Linked DNA regions of Homo sapiens: all the other regions are linked to region 2. The links are contacts of gene promoters, found by promoter capture Hi-C in blood cells and fetal thymus (Javierre and others, 2016). All regions are on one chromosome and are shown on one strand. Each heading gives the region's core, a stretch centred on a gene start or on the middle of the fragment in contact. The rest is flanking DNA. Distances are from core to core; before and after follow the strand shown. Region 1 overlaps PAMR1 (peptidase domain containing associated with muscle regeneration 1). Region 2 holds the start of EHF (ETS homologous factor). Region 3 has its middle 7.2 kb from the start of PAMR1. Region 4 overlaps SLC1A2 (solute carrier family 1 member 2).

Region 1 (4,267 bases), core at 1,336-3,835, 860 kb before region 2:
ACTCATTTAATCCCCATTGCAACCCTTGTCACAGCCATGTGACAGATGAAGACACTCAGGCACAGAGGGATAAATAACTTTTCTGCTGTCATACAACTTGTAAGTGGCAGAGCCAAGATGAAAATTCAGAAGCCAGCCCCAGAGCCCCTTCTTTTATCCTCTCCACGAAACCATCTCTTGATGTGAGAGCCCTTAGGGTCTTCATCATCTAATCCTTGGCTCTGCTATCACTGTCTGGGATGCTAAACCTGTTGGGTTTAGGGTTCTAGCCAGTGAAGAGATGAGGCTCTCATGAGCCCTGGAGCAGTGGGTCAGAACCTGAGCTGTCCCCTGTGATTCCTGGACCAAAACAATCAGTGCCTCAGATCCAGACAAGACTCGAGAAAAATAACAATATTTGTTGCCACTTATTGAGCATTTTTATGTACCAGGTGCTGTGCTAAGTGCTTTACATACAATATCTCATTTAATCCCTAAGACAAGTGAGAAAAACACATTGTTGCAGGTACAAATATTCTCATTTCCAAATGAGAGACCTTGGCTCAGAAAATATAGTGGCCTTTTTTAGAGTCACACAACTAGTAAGTGGCCGAACTAAGATTCGGACCCCGGCTGGCATCACAGACTGTGTCATCTTTGAAGGAGGAAAGAAAATGCAAATGCCTCTCTCTGAATTTTTTTAAGTCCTCCTTTTCTTTCTAAGAGGAAACAGTAAAGAAAAACAAAACCCAACCACTTCTTAGAAGTGTGTGTGTCTCTCCCACAATCCCCTCCCCTGCACCAAATGCTGAAGATAAGAAGACTTTTGTCTGAGGCTAAGGGTGTTCATTTTTGTTGAGAGCCTTTTCCAGCTGTCTTACTGGTCTAGAAATTAATAAAGATTTCCTTTCAGTTCTGTAGAAGCAGGGACTATCCAGCCGCCCCTCCTGTTTGGGCACGTAGCCATGGGGAAAGATCGGCAATGAGGCCAGGATTTGAGAGCTCAGGGCACAGTCCAGCTTCACTGACAGATATCACTACACACACACAGACACACACACACACACACACACGCCCACACACCTATACCCCTCTTCTCCTGCAGTAAGACATTGTTAAGGAATCTGAGCACATCTTCCAGGCTCTTTGCCTGCTCTGGTCTTTCAGACTCAGGACCACCTGCTAGGTTGGCCAACGATACTTCCTTGGCAGGGACACTCAGCTGTGTTCACTGTTCTGCCCTAGACAGAGAGGTGTAGTCAGGCTGCCCCTGCACCCAGCCTCGCCAGCTCTCCAAGTAGAGGCAAGAGTGGAGAGGGAATTGAAGGCATTCCTTGATGTGGGGAGGGAGCGCTCCCTCCTCCTCTTGCTGTTTCCCTAATATACCTTCTTCCAAACACATTTCCAAGAAGTGGCCCCTTTGTCTCTGGTTGTTTGGAAGTTGTTCCCCATCTTGGGGCCAACTCTGCCCTCCCCTTCAGAGTGAAAGGAACCTCATTAAGAAGAATGGAGATGTTGCATGTGTTTAGAATCCTGGCTGCTTCTGAAGGACAGCCCCTGAGGCTACAGGAACAGGTGGTCCAGCATTTCACATGGCCAGGGATCGGGCATCTGGGTGAGGATGGGGACTGAGCCCTCCAGAGACTGCAAGAGACCCTGGAGCTGGCCAAAGCCCAAATGGATGTGCCAAGGAAGCCTAAATGGGGATGAGCACCGCCTTCCCTTGGATTTGGGGAGGGGCCTGAGGCACAGCTGGCTGCTTCCAGCTTCCATATGGAGAGAAGAAACTGGGAGCAGGCTGGCAGGATTTGCTGCTGGTTCTAAATTGGGATCCCCAGCAGGAGGTTTGCTGAGGGAGCTGGGATTTAACACCTTACAGGCTGGGAAGCTGCCAGTCCCTGAGGGACGGGGGCTGTGCAGGAAGGCTTCTTTTGTTGTCTCTCACACCCTGCATATCACTTCCGTAGCCCAGCAGCAGATGGGTAGATGGGGGCGATGAGGAGTGTGAGGTGTGCAGAGAAGGAACGTGCATTTCAAAAAGGGAGCGGGCAAAAATTCCATGTATCTCTCTTAGGGGTGGAAAAATTCTGCCGTTTCAAAATGGAGTGGGAGAGGACTGGGTCAGAATGCCCCTAAGACAGTTTAACATATCAGCAAAGACTCAGCGTTGATACTAGACAGATCCAAGGTCATATCTCTGCTCTGCCACTCGATACAAACAGCTAACATTTACTAATTTTCCTGCTAAGAGTTTGCCATGCACGATTTAAGCTTCACAAAACCGTATACAGTAGCTGCCACTTTTATTCACATTTGATTCAAGTTGACTGAGGTTCTGACAAAGGAAGTAACTTGCCCAAGGCTGCACGGCTAGGGAAAATAAAGCTGAGTTTCAAACCAAGGGCAGTCAGATTCTGCAGTCTCTATTCTTAACCACTGCTTTACCATTAGGATAACGATTTACAGTCTTCTAACTTCCTGGCATCTGAGTTTAGGGAAATCACTTAACTTCTCCATCTTTAGTGTTCCACATCTAGAAAATGGGGAGATGAATGTTGTTCTCTGTGTTTTTTTATGAAGACTAAATGAGAAAATACAAATGATAATATCAACATCCTTTTATTCAACAAATATGCAGTGAGCACCTGTTATATGCCAGGTACCATTCTAGGTGTACAAGCTAGAAAAGATCCCAGCTCTATCAAAGGGAGTAGGCAAGTAAGTGAGATAATTTCAAATAGGCGTGTGTATTATGAAGGAAACAAAGCAGAGTAATAATATTGACCATAGAATTGGGAGGGCCTGTTTTAGCTGGATAGCAAGGAAGGCCTCTTTGAAGAAGTGGCAGTCGAACTTATTATTTTTATTATTCTATGTTTTTAGATGAAGTCTTGCTCTGTCACCTAGGCTGGAGTGCAGTGGTGCAATCATATAAGCTTAATTCTTACAGGAAAGAGATGCAGAAGAAGATGAGCCTTCTAGGTTTAGAAAACAGCAAGTACAAGGGCCGGAGTTGGGCACAGAAAGTAGGCTGTGTCTAGGGCAGTGGGGACAAGCAGATGAGTGGTATGTGAGACTGGGAGGAGTGTGGGTTTAGGCAGCCAGCAAGGCAGAGCTGCAAATAACATAGGAAGGTGTCTGCACAGTGGAGAACCTTTGGAGGGCTTGAATCAAGAAGATAATGTGATCTGATTAATTTATTTAAAAGGTGGCTTTGGATGCTAGGTGGACAACAGTATGTTCGGGAACAAGGGTGAATGGCGGGTGTATTTGTTTTCACTCTGCTATGTAGAAATATCTGAGACTGGGTAATTTATAAAGGAAAGAGGTTTAATTGACTCACAGCTCCGTGTGGCTGGGGAGGTCTCAGGGATCTTACAATCATGGCAGAAGGGGAAGCAAACGCGTCCTTCTTCACATGGCAGCAGGAGAGAGAAGTGCCAAGCGAAGGTGGAAAACCCCTTATAAAACCATCAGATCTCATGAAAACTCACTCACTATCACAAGAACAGCATGAAAGTAACCTTTCCCATGATTAAATTACATCCCACCAGGTCCCTCCTATGACATGTGGGGATTATGGGAACTACAAAGATGAGATTTGGGTGGGGGCACAGCCAAACCGTATTACTAGGAGATGAAGGAGGAGATGAGATTACAGAGAGAGATGATGGAGGCTGGGGCTAGACAGGAGCCCCAAGTGGAAACTGGTGGATGATGCTTTCCATCATTGGCACAGGGCAGCAGCAATAAAGATCTTAGTGAAGAGATAGATTGTATGACCTAGCAGTAGTTTTCACAAAAGTAAGAAGCCTCAGACCTCATAGCTTTGTCAAAAGTGGAGTTTGGGCTCTTTTCCTAACACTAGAAATATTACTACTGTCATCTTGCCATGGTGCAGTATCCACTAGTAATATTTTTATTTTTAGTTATGAAATTTTGTACTTTTGGGGAGTTATTGAATATAACTATGCATCCAAGTTTAAGAAGGCAATCTGGATTTCTGTATAGAAATAGGGAAGGTAAACTTTTTATGTGAATAGCCGGATAGTAAGTATTTTCATTTTCATGGGGCCTACTGTCTCTTGCTATAATTACTTAACTCTGCCATGATAGTCCAAAAACAGCCATAGGCAATACATAAATGAATGGGTGTCACTGTGTTCCAATAAAACCTTATTTTCAAAAGGAGGCAGTGGGCTGTATTTGGCCCAAGGATCATAGTGTGCAACCCCCAGGTAGAGAATATCATTTATTTCATGATCCAAATAATTTTTCCATAGAGCCA
Region 2 (4,689 bases), core at 1-2,500:
CCCTGTTACCAAGGTGAGTGCAGATAACCAGCAGAGACACCTGTGAACTTGAACCCAGAAGCATACACTCTCCATCTTAAAAACACACACTCCCACCATCCTGGGAGCATGGTAAATCAGCAAAGATGGACGGTGAAAATGTCGCTTTCTCACCTCAGCCTGATATTTACCAACAAGAAGTTAATTTCCCACTGTTCCCAGATCAGTCCACATTGGGGCTAACACTTCTCCACAATGTCCAAGCAAAATCAAAAGAATCCCTGTCTCAGAAGGCATTTGTTGCTGCTGAGTCACAACTGCCTGTCTGATCATAGTCTCCCAAAATGGAGTAAACAAAGGGTTAGTTTGTCCCCTTGTTACACAGTGAAGCCCTTTGCCAAAACTGATTGTTGTATTTTCTGGACAAAATGGAGTAAACAAAGGGTTAGTTTGTAAACAAAGGGTTAGCTTGTCCCCTTGTTATACAGTGAAGCCCTTTGCCAAAATTGATTTTTGTTTTTTCTGAATTTTTGTTTTTGTAGATATTCAGCTCTCCCCAATACCTCTGCCTGCCTTGGCTGCCTGGCCACTTTTTCCAGTGTGATTGTGTATGTTCTTGCCTATTTCTAGCCATTTTCCAGTCCTGGAACATATTAAAAACAAATTGGCCTTTCCATGTAGCTCATAAGTCAGAAAAATTACCAGCAGAAGACATCTCTAGAAAGCGAGACCGTGTACTCTGAGCCCTAACAGCTACTTAGCCAACCACTTCTTCTCTGAGCTATATCAGAGCCACCTATCTCTAGCTGCCTATTTGTTCCAGAAGAATTCAACCCAGGGGAATGGTTTTGCCACCCAGGCATAGGGAAACGAGGGGGCTTTTAAATTCACAGAGATTAGAAGTCCAGACAATGCAGGAAATTCACAGATAATATCCAAAGTAGCCAACCTGCCCTCCAAAATAAAATTCTGATTTGACCCAGTGAGGTAAGCCCAGGTAAGGTGAGCTTCACTTCCTGCCAGCCGTCTCCAAGAGTCTGTTCTAGTTTCATCTGTCCAGTTTAAAGCAGGCTTCTCTTTCCACTCAAGTGTTTGGATTCCAGATTCAAAAGAAGTTTTAAAAATCAGGACTTACCTCATTTACCTAAAGATTCTGGGTGGGAAATCCAATAGCTGTGGCTGTTGGAGGGGAGGCAGCAGGCTGCAATCTCACCAGCTCCTATAGGGATGGGGCACCACGGGTGTTATCAAGTCTGAGCCCTCATCAGAGTGAAGATAAATGCATATAACAATAATTTTAAATCATTTTGTAGGATGTTAAGCAATAAGCCACCAACCGGGAATTCCCTAAGTCACTTCCCCCTCTTCTGATTGGCTACCCAGCCCTTTAAAAAAATAAAATAAAGGATTACAAACACTGGCTCATTTGCATTTGGCCAACTCACACGTTAGTGTTCAAACAAAACAGGTCTAACCAGGTAATGCCTGTGTCTCAAGAACAGAGAGACAACCTGTTAATGGATGAGGAATTGATTTGGTGGTGACTGTTCTTTTCAGCTCAGAGGCTGTTTCAGGTGAAAAGCACCCTGCTCACCAAAGACACCATCGGGAAGAGGGAATGTAAAAGCAAAGTGAGTAGAAGTCCAAATCTGGAGGAGATGATGGTATGGAGGGGCCCTCTTGAGCACCTGTCTCATTTATTAGTCTGTATTTAGTCCACCCTGCTTTGGCATCAAGATCTTTTCCCTAGCTCTATAAGTACCAGGCTCTGAAGGGGCTCCCAGCAAGTTCCCTCTCCAGGCACCATGACTGCCTTCTTGACAGAGACTCTTGGCAATTCAATGGACTTTGAAAAGCCTATCTCCCCTGGCCCCAGGTAAGAGCCTTGAGAGGTTTGAAAGGGAAGGTCCTGGGAGGGAGGGTACCTTATGAGGAGATGCTTAGGTCAAGCAGTCAACTCTCAAATATGCAAGAGCTGATTATCCGGTTGGTGGATTATCTAGGTTCTTCACTTCCTCTTGACACTTACATGATCTTTTTTAAAAGGTTTATTGACACTCCCTATAAGAGTTAGAGATGAGAAGACCAAAATGCTGAAACTGGAAATAAAAAAGCACAGTTTGGACAAGAAGAAGGTGGAATATTAGGGAGGATCTACGGATTCAAATACCCAGGCAACCTCTATTCCCTTGGGCCAAGGGACATATGGGGAGTTACCTGTACCTGCTTCACTGGGTCACAAATGTACCTTCTCCCATACGGGTGAATGACTGCTCCTAGCAAAGAAAAATACCATCCCCCAACCATTAACTTTCTCTGTTGAACCTTCCAGGACACTGGCCTGGCATGAGCAAAGTGTCTAAGCAGATTTCTTTGACTCAACGGGCCTCCCTTTTGTGGGAGAGGGAAGGGAAGTTGAGATTTGGCAGAGATAAAGATTTTGTGATCAAAACCAAGAAGTTACTTGTGTTAAAAAGAAAAAAAAAGGTCTGCTTATGGTCAAAGGCTGACTGAATAGAATAAAAACTGGTTATTATATTAAGGGGGAACAGTGAGTGTGCAGTAGTATTAGTCTTTTCTTACTTATTTTTTCTAGTTTCTACACAAATTCAGAGGTTTCTGAAAGTGTAAAAGACTCAGTGGGAAAACAAGGGTGGACTTGGGAAGGTCTTGGAAGCTGGGCAGGTCTTGAAGAAGGGCTTGAGGCTTTGGTCAGTGCAGTTTAGGGGAGTTCTAATAAATCCCTCTGCCTCCCTAACCTGCCCCAGACATTCCCACCCTTCCCAACTGTTCAACCCTGTGAACTTGCCAAGGGCCCTGTGAAAATGCAAATGTAAACCCCGCCCCATATACACACTGATAAAAACAACAAATTTCATTATTTCCCATTATCACATTAGCCCCAATTAGTCTATCAGTTCCAGATCTGAGAGCAGGGCCCTGAGGGAATGGCCTGCTGGAGTTTTGCTTGAGAGACAAATCAGGCACAACCTGAAGTAACTACATTCCACCCACTGCAGGGCATTTGTGTGTAGTGATGGTGAAGGGGGGTGGGTGGCGGGGCACTCATGAGAAAAGGGAAGCATTATTGCTAGAGCCCGTGGGACTCCAGGGAAACAAACTTGGCCTTCTTTACACCATTGCCTGAGATTAACCTGAGACAGCAGGGTGGGAGTAGAAGGGCTAGGGTTGTGTGGTCAAGAGATAGTGAACTTCAAATGCAACCACAAAAGTGATGTGGCTCTCTGACCCAGTCCCAATCACCTTTAATTATAGGCCCTGTAATTTATAGCTGAAGAATTCTGGTTAAATCTCCATTTCTTTATCCACTTGTATTTAGTCCATTTTAGATTGGAGGGCTATTGAGACGAGTCATATTGGGGTAGTGATGGTGGGAGGGGAGGGAAAGATGTCACCTCATACTCACAAGCCACTTTATTTGTGGAGGTTTTTTTGTAAATAAAGTACCTAAAAGTGTGCCTGCTACTTGCTGGGTACTTATTAAGTATTGATTCTTCTTTTTACTTGGGTCTTAGTTGAACCTTCCAGAAGAAAAACAAAAATGAAAACAATACCCCTCACCCCCAACCTAAAAAAAAAAACACAAAAAAGCTAGAATTGCAGGTATATTGCATCCATACGGAAAGTCCTTTGGAGTTTGAGGTCTTTCACCCTACTGCCAACTTCAACAAGACAGTACTGGCGATAGATAGATAGATGATAGATAGATAGATAGATAGATAGATAGATAGATAGATAGATAGATAGATGATAGATAGATAATGATGGGATGAGATGGATGTCTCAAGGCCTTCTACTACAAGTCTCAGATATATCAAGTATGTCCTTTATGGATAAGAAGTTTAAAGTGTAATCACAAAATCATCAAACACAGCAGATCCTTAATATGGACACATTGTAAGTTCTCAAGGAGGACTCTGGCAAGAGAGACCTCCAGCACTTGTTCTGTGCTCCTGAATTCTCTGGGGGGCTGATAAAGACATAGCAAAATGAACAGAGTGATAAACAAAGCTGATTGTCTTTATTCTGTGGATGGGAAGAATCAAGAGAGAGAGGCCAAGCAGCTTGCCCTCAAATCAACTGAAACAAACTCTAGAAACCCAATTACTCTGCATAGAAATCTTCCTGGTTGTCCCTACAGGTCAAGGCCCTATCACCCTCTCCAACCTGTGCACAGACACAGAGCCCTTGAGTTGAGTCCTGTGCTGGTCCCCACAGAGGAAAAGGGGAACAGAGCAAAGCAAACCAGGTTGTGTGTGGTGGCCTGGAGACCCGGAGGTCAGTCGGGTTGTCTCCTAGAAGATCCATACTGTAAAACCAAAAACCCTAGGGATCTTAATTCCCAAATCAAGGCCAGGACAAAGAATCTCTTTAAGCCAAGTATCAAGCATTAAGGAATCTGAGTCTTAACACCAACACAGGCTGTGGCTACAAGATTAATGGAAGCTGTGTGCTTGCTTTGCAAGAAAGAGGATGCTCACACACTTTACACAATACCTTTTAACTAGAGGGCCTATATTTATTTTTGAAAGCAAGTGTGTGTTTGTATATATTTCTGTCTATCATCTCCTCCTAATGACGTGGTGTTACCTCCAGGGCAGAACACGGCATCTATTTAGTGAAAGCCGTACAAGAATATTAATGTAAGACCAATGGGAAGAAGAAACTCCTTCTGGTCTTGTGAAACTT
Region 3 (4,816 bases), core at 2,317-4,816, 910 kb before region 2:
GGCTCCTGATCAGCCAGCAAAGTCATTCACCCCAGCCCATGAGTCTACAAACATATTCTCACCTCAGACCACTTCTCCTTCCACACAAAGCAGATGACAAGGTACACTACTCAAAGCTCCACCCATTGGAAAGATCTTTTCTCAGCACTGTCTTTCAAAGCTACTCTTGAAAGTGGCTGCAATGTACTTACCACCCACCTTCAGCTTGCACTCAACAACCAAGATGTCCCACCTGTAAACCAAGCTTGGGGTTCCCTCCTTCAGATAGTTGTACTGGGAATTCCCCTAACCATATGGCCACAGTGCAAGCTGAGAGAGGGGCACTGGACAGCCATGGAGGATGGCATGTGGGTCTGGAGTTTCCACTCATGAAGCTTGATTGTTCCCTCTGGTCCTGCTTGGGTTTGATTCTGGATGGACCATTTCCATCTTAAGATGGATTGCCATGGGCTTGTATAACTTTAGGACTTGGAGGGTCTGATAGAACTCAGCTCATGATGGAGAGTTTCATACTTGGGGTCATTTGATACCCCAGGGTCAGGTGTTCTATGTCCACTGGGGTCTAGGAACATTCCAGTATTCACTCTTCAAAAAGCATAGAATTCTCTGCTGCAGATGGCATGACCTTGGTCCAGAACATCAGGGGCTTAAGTTGATTCTCCCACTGGGGCTTGCATAGATCCATAATGCACCTTTTGCCCCCATTGACATCTCCAACACAAAATCTTTTGCCAGGTCATATGTTCCATGTGGCCAAGCTACTTGCATTACAGCCGGGACTGACTATAGATCCCTTTGTTGCTCCAGGCCCTATGCAGTCAGCTACCTTTTAGGTCTCCTGGGTTGAAGTGGCATTGAGAGGTGTGAAATGTATTGTCTCCAGAGCCCAACCAAAGAAGGGTTCTGGAGGCAACCAATGCCAGACATTGTACTTCATTCTTTGTAATAGAGGATGCAAGATGCAGCATTTTATCCTTTACTTTGAACAGGATCTCTCAGCATTCTCCTAATCACTGGATCCCTAACAATTTTACCAATGCACCATGTTCATGCAGCTACATAGAGTTTATCTCCTACCATCTGAAGTGAGTTGTTTCACCAAGGCCTCCAGTGTGCTAGCCACCTTTTACTCTCCCTGCTCTGTTATTGATGTAATGGATCAATGTGTTATCCTGCAAGATGTCCAGATACTCCAGATTGTTTCTGACTACATTGTGATGACTGCAAGAGAGTTAACATACACTTGGGACAGTACCATACATGCATATTATTGTCCATTGCACATGAACAAAATTGTTTCTGATTCTCTTCTCTGATTGTAACAGAAAAGAACTCATTGGCTGCATATCACGCACCTGAGTTGACATAGATCTTCTCTAGCAATGAGACCATGCATGATAAGGCAGCCATAATTGGATCTACTACTTGGTTGAACATGTGGTAATCTACAATTATTCTACATTTGGCAGGGACTAGACTGGTGAATTAAGTTGAGATAGGGATATATGACAGAGTTTATCATCGCTGCGTCATTAAGATCTTTAGGGGTGACAACAATCTCCAACTATACCCTTTGAATGTGATATTGTCTTGATTCACTATCTTAGTGAGAGGATGGCAGTTTCAGAGCCTTTTCCCCTGTACCCTCATTGACTGGGGGCTGCCTGGGAAGAATGTGGCCTTGGCTCAAATGTGGGAGTTAGGTCATTTTGGATAGGCTTGAGAGGGTCCCCACATATCCTGAAACCGTAAGCAAATATCAGAATGCATGTATATTTTTCTAGAATCCATACCTTTTTATTGAATTCTCAAAGGATTCTTTAACACTCAAACGATAAAGTTACACTGATATGAAGCCTCCCTTGATCCTTCCATTTTCTCCAGGCCCTTTTCATATTCTTTCTTGTTTAAAGAGTTGATGATGTACTTCGATGCCAGCTGCTCTGGCCTTCTTTGTGCTCTGCAAGAACACTAAGCCCATTCCCAGCTCAGGCCTTTTGCATTAGCTGTTCCCTCTGCCTAGAGTGTCCTTTCCTCAGAGGCTCCCATGGATGGTTTTCTTTTTTTTTTGTTAACCTCAGTTTTCAGTTTAAATGTCACCTTCTCATAGAGGCCTGCCCTGATTCCACAAAATAGTCACTTTCTAGCATATTCTCCTGTTTCATTTCTAACACTATCATCATCTGGTTTTCTTTCTTTATTGCATATTTTTGTCTGGCAGTAAGTGAACTCCATAAAAATGGGAATCATTCATCTTGCTCACCATGTTATCCCCACTGCCTAGAATAGTGCCTGGCGTATAGCAGACACTCAAAATGGTTTCTGAAATAAATCGATAAATGCTTGTTTTCTTTATCCGTCTGAAAATGGTTTCCTATGTGTTCCCCCCTTATGTCATCTTTATAGCGCTATAAAATTTATATATAATTATAAACAATCCAAGCATATAAAAAAAGCTTAGGTAATAACAGATACCTATGTACTCATCTCAAAGATGAAACAGATGTTAACATTTTGCTTCAATTATTTCAAATTTTGCCTGTGCTTCTTTTAAATTTTTGCTAAAAATTTCATACCCCATATTTTGCTCTGCGCTTCCTTCTCAGCAGTAACTGCTATCTTAAAGAAAGAAATGTCATTTCTTTATATGTTTTAGTAGTTTAATGATATGTGCTTATATTTATAAATAATGCATGCTATTTTTTGTATGTTCTGAGATTTTATATAAATGCTTGCATGCTGTAGATATCTTTTGGTAATTTGGTCCTGGGTATTTTACATTGTTGTTGAGCCACAGGATTAAACAACTCTGGAGCCATTCTACCTGTGGGCTTATTGTTATATGAGAAAATAAAATTCCTTGTTATTTAAGCCACATGAATTTGGTTTGTTTTTATGTACAGGGAAGCCTCCTAACTGCGATAATCTAACTCTATTTAAACATTCCTCGTTGTTGAGTCCTTAGGCTCAATAATATCTATATTAAATGTGGCTGGGCTGGCAGTTTTCATTTGGCTGCATGTTTACTGATATATAGACAGTTTTAGTTTCTCCTTTAACCCATGTTGCCCAATCCAGAAACCTTTTGTATTTGTATTTTATTTCTGTGTGCTATGGTCTGATTGTTTATGATTTCCCCCAATTTATATATTTAACACTAATCCCCACTGTTACAATGTTTGGAGGTGGAGCCTTTGGGTGATGGTTAAGTCATGAGGGTGGAGCCCTCATGAATTGGATTGGTAGATGCATATGGGGCTGTCCTAGTACAATCAGGCTGCTATAAGAAAAATACAATTTATAGACAATAGAAATTTATTGCTCACAATTCTGGAGGCTGGGAAGTCCAAGCCCATAGTGTCAGCAGACTCAGTGTCTGGTGAGGGCTCACTCTCTGCTTCATAGATGGTGCCTTCTTGCTGTGTCCTAACATTGCAGAAAGAGCAAACAATCTCCCTCAGGCCTCTTTTATAAGAATACCAATCTCCTTCATGAAGGCTCTGCCCTCATGACCTAGTCACACCCTCAAGTTCCCACCTCTTAATACCACCACATTTGGGATTAGGTTTCAATACATTTTTAGGGTACACAAACATTCAGACCATAGTGGTGACTGAAGAGATCAGGGCTCTTCCCTTCCACCATGTGAGGACTCAGCTGTGAACCACATCATCTGTGAACCAGAAAGTGAGACCTCACCAGACAACAAATCTCCTGGGACTTTGACCTTGGAATTCGCAGCCTTGAGGACTGAGAGAAATACATTTCTGTTGTTTATAAGCCACCCAGTTTATGGCATTTTATTCAGCAGCCTGAATGAACTAACACATTTAGTTGCTTAAAACAATAAAATGCATTATCTTGCCCAGTTTCTGACTGTCAGGAATCTGGGAGCAGCTTAGCTGGGTGGTTCTGGCTAGGAGTCTCTCATGAGGTTGCAGCCAAGTTGCTGGCTGGGGCTGCAGTCATTTGAAGGACTGGGGGATATGTTCTCAAGCTCATTCAGGTGACTACTGTCAAGAGGCTTCACTTCCTCTCCATGTAAGACTCTCCACAGGGTTGTTCCCAGATTCTCCCAGACAGAGTAATCTGAGAGAGACAGAGAACAAAGGGGCTCCTCCAGCACACCACCATGCACCAGCCACCACCACATGGTCATTAAACTGGGAATCATCTTTGACTGCTCTCTCACTGTTATCCTCCATGTATCATCAATCACAGATCTCATCCTTCTAACCTCCTCAGTGCCTCTCAGTTCAAGCCACTTCTCTCCATCCTATTTTTAACAACTCCAAGATGAGGTGCTCATAGATAGATAGTTACAGTAGTTATAATATTAAAAAATGGTACACATTGATTGAGCTCCTATTATGTATAACAGCATCATTGTAGTCTTCTCACCAAAATTCAGAGGTAGCTATTACCCCTTTTGACAGAGGAGGACACTGAAACTCAGAGGGACTGATGGACTTGCCCAGGTTCATACATAGTAGAGCCTTGATCCATATGGGGATCTTTTCACCACAGTGACTTTTTTGTGTGCCACTGTACTCCATTACCTTCTCTTGGAGTTATTCTATTTTTTGTTTTCTTCCCTACCCAAATGACTCAACTGTTTTTGAGTTAGCCACTTGGACTGTGGTCAACGTTTTTGCCAGTGTTCTCTGTAAAGCTTTGCAGTTCAGTTGCATAGCAGACAACATTTTTAAAAATTGAAGTTTATAAATATACATATGGATGTCAAGAACAGGTTTCCCCAAGTGATTCAGGAGCATATTAACTATGAAGGAGAAAAGCTTGCCGACTTTCAGCAATT
Region 4 (4,311 bases), core at 113-2,612, 760 kb before region 2:
TCACCTGGTAAAAGGGAGATAATATTTCCCTTTCAGGGTTGTGATGAGGATGAAATGGAAAAACCATCTGATATGTGCTTGTCATAGATTATCAACAGCTGTTACCTCTCTTCTATGTACTGAAAAAGCCATCTGTTACCCTAATTCATAAAAAGGAGGGGAGGGCAGGGATGGTTTGAGCTTGGACATTTTCTGGCCTTTCTCAATGACAATTTAGAATGCAGTGAGGGGAAAGCTTTTATTTTTGAATATTTCTATTTCACTGTCTCACTGGGTCACTCTGGGGCCTCTAGAAATTGTATTCTCCAGATATAGTATGATGTTGTCAGCATATGCATACATTTTTATCACTTCTTTAGTTTATCTTTGTATAAACCACATATATCTGGGAAATTTAACCAACTGCCTTTCTACAAGTGGTGTCATATTTAGGCAGATGGTTACTTTTTGGGTACACAATTGTGTAGGGAAGCCATCTTGCACTGAGACTCTGAGACCATGGGCTTCCCAGCCTTAGCATCTTACTTACTGTCACCTCTCTAGGCTTTAGAGGGGTTGATTATTGGGTTTCTAAAATCCTTCTAAATTTCCCAAATTCTATGGTTCAAAGTCTTTGTGTAACTGTCCAATAGAACAAGCATATAAGTGGCCAAACTTCTGTGATGATACTCCTTTCCCCTAAAGCCAGTGAATCTTCTGAACATTCAGAAATTGGGATACTGGTGAATATGCCACAGTGGAAATGCATAGGTAACTTCAACAAGCAAATAATCTTCAATGATGAATCAATATCTTCTAATCCACTGAGCCTAAAGCTGCAACTGTTTGAGATTCATTAAGGATTCTTAAATCTAACATGTATTTGTCATTTTGAATTATGGCCATATGCTTTGCAGATGGCCTCTGAGTGGGTCTTCCTTATTCAAGAAGGAGTAGGGTCACATTCATTATTTGTACATTACTTTTTTAAAGATTCATGGGATTAAAGGATGAAATCAGAACTCAGACAATCCAGGAGCAACCTGCGTGGATGAGAATAGTCATCTTCCATATTCCACATGGGATCTGTACTTTCAGTTAAAATATTTATATAATTATGGTATCATTAAAAAAGTCATTTCCAGATCTCACTGACTTCGTTGATGAATCACCCACTCACCGGTTTAAGTTACATGTGACAAGACAGCTTCTATTACTATTTTGTTTCTTGTTCTTGGATTCCATGAGATATCTATACTTAGCAATATGATACTCTCCTCTTTTATTTGCACTAGGGTGAACGTATTTCTCTTTCAAGCAACCAAAAAAGTCCTGGCTGGAACAGAGGAGGCGATGGCAGGCCATTGCTAAACTTTGCTGTGTTGTGGCAGTACAGTTTCTGTCCCTTTTATCTTGTTAACTGTCAGTACTCCAAACAAGCGAGTAGAACAATTGCCATCCGTTCAGCATGAAGAACCCCATGGAAGGGATCTAGAGGGAGATGTCACACCATAGATGTACTGAGTGAGATGGTATCATGGTGGCCATTCCTCAAAATATCAGCACTGCCCTCCAGAATCCACCCAGATGACATTGATCAAGCATCTACTGTAAGCCAGACACTTGGAGAGGTGCTGGGAATACAGAGATGAGAAAGACAGGGTATTTGCTCTTGGGTGGTTCATTCCATAATGATAGCAACAACTTATATAGAACCTGTTCTATGCCAGGCATTGTTTTAAATGCTTCATGTATGTTAGCTTGTGTGATCTTCAGAACAACCCCATGAGGTGGGAACTATTCTTACCATCCCTGTTTTATAGACAGGGAAACTGAAACACAGAGAATCTGGGTAACTTGCCCTAGTTACATAGCTAGTGAGGAGCAGAACCAGAATCCAAACCTAAGCAGTCAGCTCCAGAGTTGGGCTCCCCACTGGCACATTCTGCTTGTACTCTCCTTTTCTCTGATAATCCCATGACATCTTTATCTCCTTAAGCCATATAGCATTTTCTTAGGCTTATTTCTTTCATAATAACCATTATAAAAATAACAACAACAAAAAATACTTTCAACCAAAAAAGGCAGAAAAAAGGCAACACAACATAACAAAATTAATTTACCCAGGTCCCATTACTGTTGTCATTTTAGTTTATGTCCTTTAAATTTGTGTCAAACTAACATAGTATTTTCAGGCATGCTTTTTTCTTTTAGGATTATGCCAGAGTTTCCCCACTATATTCTTTTTTGACATAACTTTTAATACACTACCAGTTTGAGTGTTTTCCAGTCATGGCTACACTATACAATTGACTTAACTGATCCCTTACTCTTGGACATGCCTAAAATTCCTCTGTCATAACACTGTTGTGAACATCTTTGCATATGTATTTTTTTCTATATGTCTGATAATTTTCTTAGATGGTGTAGGCTTTTAACTTTTGGAGCGTGCAGGTAGGAAAAGCAGGATCAGTTTTCAGATTCAGATTCAAAAGAAACATTTAAGCTTTTTTCACTCCTAGAGAGCTGGAAACAATAATACCTTAAAGGTCTAAAGCATGATCTAGATCATTCACCTACCCTTTAGGAGGACTTTTTTTTTTTTTTGAGACTGAGTCTCGCTCTGTTGCCCAAGCTGGAGTGCAGTGGCGTGATCGCAGCTCACTGCAACCTCTGCCTCCTGGGTTCAAGTGATTCTCCTGCCTCAGCCTCCCATGTAGCTGGGGCTACAGGCACCTGCCACCACGCCCAGCTAATTTTTGTATTTTTAGTAGAGACAGGGTTTCACCATGTTGGCCAGGCTGGGCTTGAACTCCTGAGCTCAAGTGATCCACCCACCTCGGCCTCCCAAAGTGCTGGGATTATAGGCGTGAGCCACCGCACCCAGCCTTAGGAGGAATGTTAAAACTTATGCTTTGTCCTTTTGGAAATATCATGTATCTTCTTCCTATGAAATGGATTCATGATGTTCCATTATAAGTTAGCTAAACAAAGATTTCACTGGTCTAGTTGCCCCTGTGGCCCATCTTGAAGAATCACTCTATGGAATGATGGGCAATCAAACACAAGAGGATCAGGAAGAAACAAAATAGGTTTAACAGAATCTCTGTAATAGTGAAAATATCGACAGGTTGACAAGGACCACAGGGAAAGCACAGTATGAAACAAATGGTAAGTAAAGGTCCAACAAGTGGTGGGTGATTCAGTGAAGAGACAGCAATGCAGAGTGGTTACCACGGGCCTTGTAGGAACATGGAGCTGAGTTTGATTTCATTTCTTAGTTTCTGTGTCATCTTGCACAAGTTGTTCCATTTTTCTAAGCCTCAGTATCTTCATCTGTAAAATGGGCATGTTATCATACCTGCTTCATAAGGTTGTTGTGGGAATCTAACCAATCATGTAAGTACAGATACAGTTACTGTTTGTTGGCTTTGTGCAGGGTACTGTATTTTTACAATTTCATCATCATTTTCTTCATTGTCACTTCACTCAGTGGAAGGGGACTATGTGATAAGAGATCAGTACTCATTGTTGCAGAACATGAAATCATCATAGTTGTGTGTTTCTGGGAAAGACAATAAATTAAAAGGTGCAATATGACACTTACAAGAAATACGTACTCCCCTTTGTTTTCCTGAAGTACAAAGTAGGATCAGGTTGGAATTTCCCGCCTGTCTTCTGAGGCAAACAAGAGCAGTTTGGGGGCCTCGCTGAGGGGGCTGGTGTCCTCTGAACCAGCAGGGTAGGCATGAGTGGACAGGCTGTGGCTTGTACTTCAGTGTCCCTCTGATGTTTTTAAAAATTGACAGCTATTGAAGATTTTTCGGGCTGTTCTTGGTGGGACTCAAACTCAAAGAGAAAGAAGGGGTGATCTTTATGGGTAAGGTAACTGGGATGTCTAGGGATTCAGCAGGCTTTGGATACAGCAGACAGAGGGCTGAAAGGCTATCTAGACTTTGCTACTCTCCCCATCTTTTGGTTGGGTTTTCTTCTGGGTTGTTGTCCTTTCAGGCAATGATGGGTTTGGCAGCTCAAGACTTACAGCATCCTCAGAGAAAATGATTTCAGCAATGGAAAGTGCCTCTTTTCTGATACTTCTAGGAAGAGGCCCAGAGAAGAGTCTCATTGGCTGGGCTTCAGCCACACCCATTCTTGGGCTGACCACTGTAGGAAAGGATTGCTCTGATTGCCCAGTCTGGATCACCGTGTGATGACAATCACACGATGGGATGACATGGAAAAGGTGGCTGCCCAAAAAGCTGCCCGAATGATGAAAATAAGAGAAAAGAAACAAAGGGATGAAAGGAGGAAAATATATGTGGCTACTGCAAA

Evidence for each region. Contacts are between HindIII fragments. The CHiCAGO score rates a contact against its expected background, and 5 or more counts as called.
Region 1: a contact is called between a fragment that was not itself captured here and the fragment with the promoter of EHF in region 2, in 3 of 17 cell types (naive CD4 T cells, activated CD4 T cells and total CD8 T cells). The highest score is 5.4, in naive CD4 T cells.
Region 3: a contact is called between a fragment that was not itself captured here and the fragment with the promoter of EHF in region 2, in 1 of 17 cell types (activated CD4 T cells). The highest score is 5.1, in activated CD4 T cells.
Region 4: a contact is called between a fragment that was not itself captured here and the fragment with the promoter of EHF in region 2, in 2 of 17 cell types (total CD8 T cells and naive CD8 T cells). The highest score is 5.7, in total CD8 T cells.

Annotation. Positions count from the first base shown.
Region 1 is chr11:35,475,621-35,479,887 of GRCh38, reverse strand. All of the region lies in intron 3 of PAMR1 (peptidase domain containing associated with muscle regeneration 1), which reads left to right. Among named protein-coding and RNA genes, the nearest start is that of PAMR1, 48 kb to the left of the region's middle. The HindIII fragment of the contact is 665 bases long and covers 2,253-2,917 here.
Region 2 is chr11:34,617,654-34,622,342 of GRCh38, reverse strand. EHF (ETS homologous factor) reads right to left here and starts at 1,250. Exons shown (of 9, transcript NM_012153.6): 1 at 1,115-1,250. RefSeq lists a cis regulatory region at 2,950-3,349. The HindIII fragment of the contact is 6,441 bases long and covers 1-4,689 here.
Region 3 is chr11:35,530,453-35,535,268 of GRCh38, reverse strand. No RefSeq gene overlaps it. Among named protein-coding and RNA genes, the nearest start is that of PAMR1, 7.2 kb to the right of the region's middle. The HindIII fragment of the contact is 2,216 bases long and covers 2,459-4,674 here.
Region 4 is chr11:35,381,071-35,385,381 of GRCh38, reverse strand. The region is part of intron 1 of SLC1A2 (solute carrier family 1 member 2); the gene reads left to right. Among named protein-coding and RNA genes, the nearest start is that of SLC1A2-AS2, 36 kb to the left of the region's middle. The HindIII fragment of the contact is 2,250 bases long and covers 238-2,487 here.